Regions from separate parts of the Homo sapiens genome. Here region 2 is linked to region 1. The links are contacts of gene promoters, found by promoter capture Hi-C in blood cells and fetal thymus (Javierre and others, 2016). All regions are on one chromosome and are shown on one strand. The core of a region is centred on a gene start or on the middle of the fragment in contact, and the rest is flanking DNA. Distances in the headings are between cores, read along the strand shown.

Region 1 (3,266 bases), core at 367-2,866:
CAACAAGGAAATTCACCATCTTGGCTTGTCTGATCCTCTCCCCTCTTTCTCCTTTTTATGGAGAGGCTGGTGTTTTGTTCTGGAGTAGCTGTAGCTAGGTGATCACATGGACTTTGATGTCCCCTCTGCAATAACTCTGTGGTCAATCCATGGTGGACCTGACATGCAGGGACAGGCCACACCTGAGCACCGGGGTAGCTCAAGTATGGATTCTGGCTGGGCCATGTCCTACTGTGCCACAGCTGACCCCCAGCCCGGCTTCTGCTTTCATAGAGGCAATGGGTCTGAGAGCTGAGACCTGCTCTGCCTTCCTCTTCATGTGGAACCCCACAGGAGAGGCTGAGAGGGGCCCGAGAGACATATCGTGGGGGTGCTTGATGGAAAACTACAGACTGAGAGTCTCACTTCACACCCCACCCCTGCTGGGAAGTTCTAAAATACACAGAGGAAGCACATGTAAAAGGAAATTTCCCTTTCTCCCTGCAACTTCCTCTCCCTTCATACCACCTAGAGCTGAAGAAGCACCTCCTTTGTCTTGAAGGAGGCACCAGCTATTCTGAATGAAGGGCGGTGGGACAGTGCTGTACCCCACACCAGGTGGGCGTGCTCAGGGACAGTGACCAGGACGCTGTTCTGGAGGAGCTCACTGGGCACACGGCATAGGGCACATGTATTCAAAAAATACCCTTCCCCATTGATAGCTGGCAGGCCACTCCAGACAAATTCTAGCTAGGTGCCTGGTGCTATGCAGTGACCAGAGGTGCCTGGGACCAGACACCCCACCATCCCAGCCTCTGCTTCCAGAGGACACACAACAAACACCCACACCTCCCCTTAAGCACCTATGATATCCCTGCACCCTCACAGCAACCCCGCAAAGTAGATATTGTGTTGTTACCTACCTTTGACAGACTGGGAAACCAAGGCTGACCCTTGCCTAGCTGTCGTGACTGATACATGATAGAGGAGGAGAAGAAACTCAGGTCTGTCTGGTCCCAATCCTGGGTCCTCTCTACATTGCTTCTTGAGGTACGCTCTGGGTGCTTTCTCTAGGAAAATCCCAAGGAGAAGGGTTGTGAAGGTCCAGGGCCTTGCCTAGAAGCCACAGAGGGCAGGTACTTGGTGGAAAACTCCAGCGTGTGATTCACCCTCCTCCCTTGCCCTCGTCAGTGAGGTCACCTCCCCTCCCAAGGTTCTCAGTTTATAGCCTGGAGTCTCTGGTAAGAGAGGGCTGTCCCCTGTGCTGCACATACCCGTCTCCTCATCCCTGGGAAGGAGATGGTTCTGGAGGGGGATAGGGGAAAAGGGGGAAGGGGGAAGGGCAAGGAGGAGGAGGAGGGGAGATGAGGTCAGGGTGTGAGTCTCTGAGCCCCTTCCCCTGCCCAAGGGAGCAGCAGCTCAGCCCAGCTCTGGAGGGGCCATCATGGGACTGTGCCCACGGGGAGGGCACCGGTCTGGAGACAGTGGGTTCACAGTGGGAGTGGGATGGGGGTGGGAGCGCTGGGGACAGAGGACTTGACTTCCTGAGGTTGGATGTTGTAATCTCGGTTCACAAACTTTTGGCCTCAGTCCCTCCTGCTGCTCCTGGTATTTCTCTGTCCTTTCACTCCCCAACACACACAGCCCCCGCCCCAACACATACACACACGGCTTCTTTCTGTCTGGGAGTCCCTGGACAAGTCACATGGGATTCTGCGCTGGGAGGAACAGGGTAAGGCGTGAACGTGGAGGGCAGTTTCCCTTTCAGGTCCCGGCTCTCTTGGCTTTCCCATAAGCAGCTGCCTTGGGACTCTCCTGGAGACCTGATGCCCACAGCCAAGCTGACCACAGGAGCCGGTGCTGGGGACTGAGGTGAGCGGGAAGTGGAGGGGCTGGCTCTGTCTTTGCAGTCTCCAACTGCTGCTCAGAGGGGCTGGAGGGATAGAGCCCTGGGAAGCGAGACTCTGTGGAACTGCGTGTCTGCAGCGGGGGGCAGGACCTGCAATAACCTCAGGCCAAAGGGCAAGTCTGATGCCCACGACTCTCAGGACAAGGGGTGCCCCCTAGCTCCGCCCCATCCAGCGTGGGAGCAGCTCAGTGATTAGCCTGTGGAGCAGGAAAGTCCAGCGATGGGCAGCTGGTCACGGCAGTGGGTGAAAGCAGGGGTGGTCATCTGACGAGGGGAGGGGAAGCAGGTGGTGCCCAGCAAGGTGGAAGGAGAAGTGGACAGGAGAAACCTCGGGGCATTCCCGAGGGCCCAGGAACTGCAATAAATGATCACAGGTGAGGGGTTCCTGCCCGCTGCCTGCCGGCTGAGCGTGACGAGCTGGGTGCCAGGCGCCTCCCAGGAGGAAGCTGTCTTGGCTTTGGGCGGTGGATGCTATGGGTGTGCTTGTACCCGAGGGGGGCACTCAGGGGAGTTGCAGGCAGCCACCAGCTGAGACCGGCACTCACGGGGTGTGAAGGACTACAGAGAGAGCCAGGTTTTGGTGCCATGCACACAGGTATGTGTGTGCGAAGGGACGTGACGGGAAATGGCACCAGTGTGTGTATGGGAATGGGTGTTGGTATGTGGGTGTGGACTGAAGCAGGGGCTGGGTGTCCCATCCCCCCGTGTGCAGGGTCTGAGCTATTCCTATGCTGGACTGGGGAGCAAAGGGGACAGAGCTGGGATCCCAGCAGCACATGGGCAGCAGCATTTCTGGTCTCGTCTGCACCTCTGCTAGCCCCAGCTGGGCCTCTGGCGACATGCCCAGCTCCTGAAAACAGACTTAACTTTGGACTTTCTAGTCTCTTGAAGATTTGCTCTCTGGGCAGCACCAAGCCCGGTGTGGAAATTGGTGTGTTTGCTTCTGGAGGGCACTGAAGTATGATGAGGCCCATCCCCCACCCCTCACCCCCCTGTCCCGGCTTAGCAAAGCAGGTGGGCGGCCTTGGAGGAGACTCGAGGGGCTGGAGAGGCGGCCAGCCGAAGCTGGAGGTGGAAGGGCACAGCGGGGGTGGGGTGTGTAGTCCTTTGCCTTTTAAAAGTAGCCCAGAAAGGAGAACTCAGTACAGCTTGTTTTGGTGTCTAACATCCTCTGGGCCATTTCTTCCCTGAGTCTAACTTAAATCCCTCTTGCTGCAGTTTAAGCGTGTTCCCTCTTGAGTTACCACGGCTCGGGGCCAGCTGTCCTTTTCACTTGCTCTTGCTTTCATTCTGCCGTTCTGGATTTTCATTCTGAACCACAAGTTACGCTCCTCCCGATTACTTTTTTATTTTCATTTTTATTTTTAAAAAATCATGT
Region 2 (3,504 bases), core at 422-2,921, 130 kb after region 1:
AGAAATATCATTTCACCCACAATGTATCCCTCTAATAGGTAAGAACTTTAAAAAGATATGAGTACCATAATCATACCTAACTAAATTAACAATTTTCTAACATCACCTAATACTTCATCTACGTTCAAATTCCCCGACTGTCTTAAAAATGTCTAGTTCCAATGGCTTTGTCTAAATCAAGCCGGATCAAAGGTCCACATGTTCTATTTGGTTGATTTGTCTCTAAAGTCTCTCCTCCCTTCTCTCTCAAACCCACTAATCAAGCCTCCAAATCCACTCCCAAGACTATGCTTTTCAAGGTCACCAATTACCTGAATGTTGCTAAAGCTAATGGACAGTTCTCAGTCTGCATCCTCCACGTTTCAGCAGCCTTTGAAACGCTCTTTGCCAGAACACTAGGTGCTTCTCCTGGCTGTTCTCCTCCCTCTGGGTGCTCCTTCTCAGCTCCCATGCCCACCTTTTAGTGTTGTGTGCATTGCAAATCTGCCCTAGGCCTCTTTCATCTTCTGTTCTCACTCCTTGGTGGCGTGGCCCAGTCTCAAGGCTTTAAAAGCATCCCAAAGTTATACCTCCAGCCCATTCCAAATGCCTACTGCACATCTCCTCTCAAACATCTAAGAGCTGTCTCAAACGCCATCCGTCAAATGCTCAAACCTCCTCATCCCCCATGGACTTCTCCATCCCATCCTTCTAATAACTTTGGCCCCAAACCTTGAGCTCATCCTCAACTCCTCTTTGTCTCACATCCCACACTGATCCCTCAGGAAGTACTGTTGTCTTGGCTGCAGATCATACTTTCATTGCTACTACCCTGGTCCAAGCTACTAGCATCTCTTACCTGGGCTGTGTAACAACCTTCTACCTGAACTCCCTGCTTCTGCCTTTCTTCCCTCTTCAGTCTATTCTCAAACCAGCATCCAAAGTTCCTTTTAAGCACCCTCTGCTCAAAGTCATCCACTGGTTCCTAGTTTTTCTGAAGGTAAAAGCCAAACACTTCCTAACGGACTCCAATGCCCTCAACAACAAGAAACAGGGGCATTTCTGGCAGGAAAATTCTTCACTGTGTGGTCTGTCCCACACACTGCAGGATGTTTGACATGGCCCTTACCCACTGCATGCCACAGAACAACAACCTTCCTCATCCAAGCCCCATCAGCATTTGTGACAACTAAAATGTGCCCACACATTCCAAATGCTCCCTGGTGGACCTGGAAATCCCAGTTGAGAATCTCTTACAAGATCTGCTACGCGCCTGCACCCTCCTACCCTCCCATGCCCCAACAATCTCTCTGACTTGGCCTCAGGCGCCTCTCCCTGTGCTCTCGGCCCTTGTCTTACTTGAACAACCTGGCAGGGTCCCACCCTTGGCCTCTATGCTAGCTGTTTGTCCTGCCAGGAATGCCCGTCCCCAGACAGCCACAGAACTCCCTCCCTCCCCTCCTCCAGGACTTTGCTCAGGTGCTGTCTCCCCAGGGCACCCAGTTTGAAAGTGCAGATTCCTTTATTCCGGGTCTCTTCTCTGCTTTTTCTCCAGGGCTCTTATCCCATCAGATGCACTATAAGTTTTCATTAGTGATCTTGTTTGTCTGTAAGCTTCATAAAGGAATTTGGGAGTTTTTTTGTTCACTGCTATACCCCAGGGCCTAGAATAGTAACTGGCACACAGCAGATAATAAATATTTGTTAAGTGAAAGGAAGAATACAGATGCCAGGAAAATATATACTTACAGAAAGAAGAAAACAAGCTTTTCTAAGCCACAAGAATAAAGAACTAATTTTGTTCTTAGCAAGGACTGGTGTGTGCTCAGCCTGGGGTGAAAAGTAAGGAGTGAGGCTATAAGAACATCTATTTATTTATCAGATCGGTTCAGGAAGGCTTCCTGAAACTGCTGGGGTTGTAGGACTCACCTTCAGCTGGTTTAGAGCCAGATGCTAACACCCTGATGGCTCCCCCAAACTTGATAACTGCTGACAACAAAGGGAGCCCCGGGGAGCAAAAGTGAACCAAGCTGGAGTTTTCAGACGGAGAAGCACTTGCCGAATCGTATTTCTGCTGCAACTGACCCATGTCTGCAGGAGGCTGCAGCAGCACGTCAGCCAGAGAGGCAAGTTCAAATGCAGCTGCTCAATCATACCTGCTTCCTCCCCTCTCTGGCCCTCAGAAAGCCCACCTTAAATAATTACTTGCCTTCCAAAACTCTCAGCAGACAGCAGAAAGGACCTAGCTTCACAGCCATACAGTGGAATATTTTGCGGCTATTAAAAAAGAACGCGGCAGCTCTTTTTATATTTAATAAGGAAAGATCACTAAGATACATTATTAGGGAACAAAACTCAAGGTGCAGAACAGCATATAGGATACTAGTATCTCTGTAAAAAGAAATAAACATTTTGCTTAAATGTACATATAGCTGGAAAGACGTGAGAAATAATAGTGGTTGCTGGAAGGTGTGGGGGCGGGCAGGAATTCGAGTGGTTAGGAAACAAGGATGGGGGCGATGCTTTTCACTGTAAACTCTTTTCTTTTGAATCTTGTACTAGGTCAATGTATTGTCTATTTGAAAAGAGTAAATCAAGCTACTCTGGAGGCTGAATTGGGAAGATTGCTTGAGGCCAGGAGTTCGAGACCAGCCTGGGCAACATAGGGAGGCCTCCGTCTCTACAAAAACAAAGAAAATTAGTCAGGTGTCGTGATGCATGCCTGTAGTCCTAGCTACCTGGGAGGCTGAGGTGGGAGGATCACTTGAGCGCAGGAGTTCGAGGCTGCAGAGAGCAATGATTGTGCCACTGTACTCCAGCCTGGGTGACAGAGTCACCATCTCTTAAAGAAAGGAAAAGGTGAATTACATTAAAAGCAAATTACATTAGCAATTTTGTGTGTATGTTAAAAGCCACCTGTACAAGTACAGGTGGCCAGAAGCCAGAGTCCTTCAAGTGAAAGAGCCCTGAGGCTTTAGCTGACCTCATGTGTGATAGGTCCCATCTGTGGCTGGGGCTGAGAAAGCCAGTGGGTCCCTAGCCACCATCCAAAGCTAGGCGGGGGGTGAGGGAGGGCCTCCCTGTGCCCAAAGCTGGTCTGGCCACAGCCCCTGCGCTGCAGGGCTCACTCCCAGCTCCCTCTGTGTTCTCGGAGAGCAGTAACCCAGGTGAGGCAGGGCCACCCGCAGAACCATGAGGAGCAGGAAGTGCCAGGATCAGGTATGTTCTCCTGAAAGTAGATGGCGGAGGGGTGTCAGTGGACTGGAAGGCAAGGGAAGGGAAGGATGGCTATCTGCCTTCAAATATTTGAAAGGGTGTGAAGTCAAACAGGGAAGGAGTCCTGTTCAGAGCCCCTTAGAAGATGCCGGGGTCAGGGTGGGGGGTGGTGAGGCCTCTCACCTTCAAAGAGCACCTTCTGCCACTGGAAGGGTCCCAAAGTGACAGCAACCACCCCGCGTCGAGCCCTCACTGCGTGCCAGGCACTCGGCTTGCCTGACGCTTTACTGGCATCACCCCTGAATTTTC

The links. Contacts are between HindIII fragments. The CHiCAGO score rates a contact against its expected background, and 5 or more counts as called.
Region 2: a contact is called between a fragment that was not itself captured here and the fragment with the promoter of SLC6A12 in region 1, in 2 of 17 cell types (erythroblasts and M1 macrophages). The highest score is 6.4, in erythroblasts.

Annotation. Positions count from the first base shown.
Region 1 is chr12:212,507-215,772 of GRCh38, reverse strand. It overlaps SLC6A12 (solute carrier family 6 member 12), which reads left to right and starts at 1,616. Exons shown (of 16, transcript NM_001122848.3): 1 at 1,616-1,851. RefSeq lists enhancers at 1,735-2,506, 3,218-3,266. The HindIII fragment of the contact is 26,496 bases long and covers 1-3,266 here.
Region 2 is chr12:78,771-82,274 of GRCh38, reverse strand. The region is part of intron 1 of IQSEC3 (IQ motif and Sec7 domain ArfGEF 3); the gene reads right to left. Among named protein-coding and RNA genes, the nearest start is that of IQSEC3, 14 kb to the right of the region's middle. The HindIII fragment of the contact is 152 bases long and covers 1,596-1,747 here.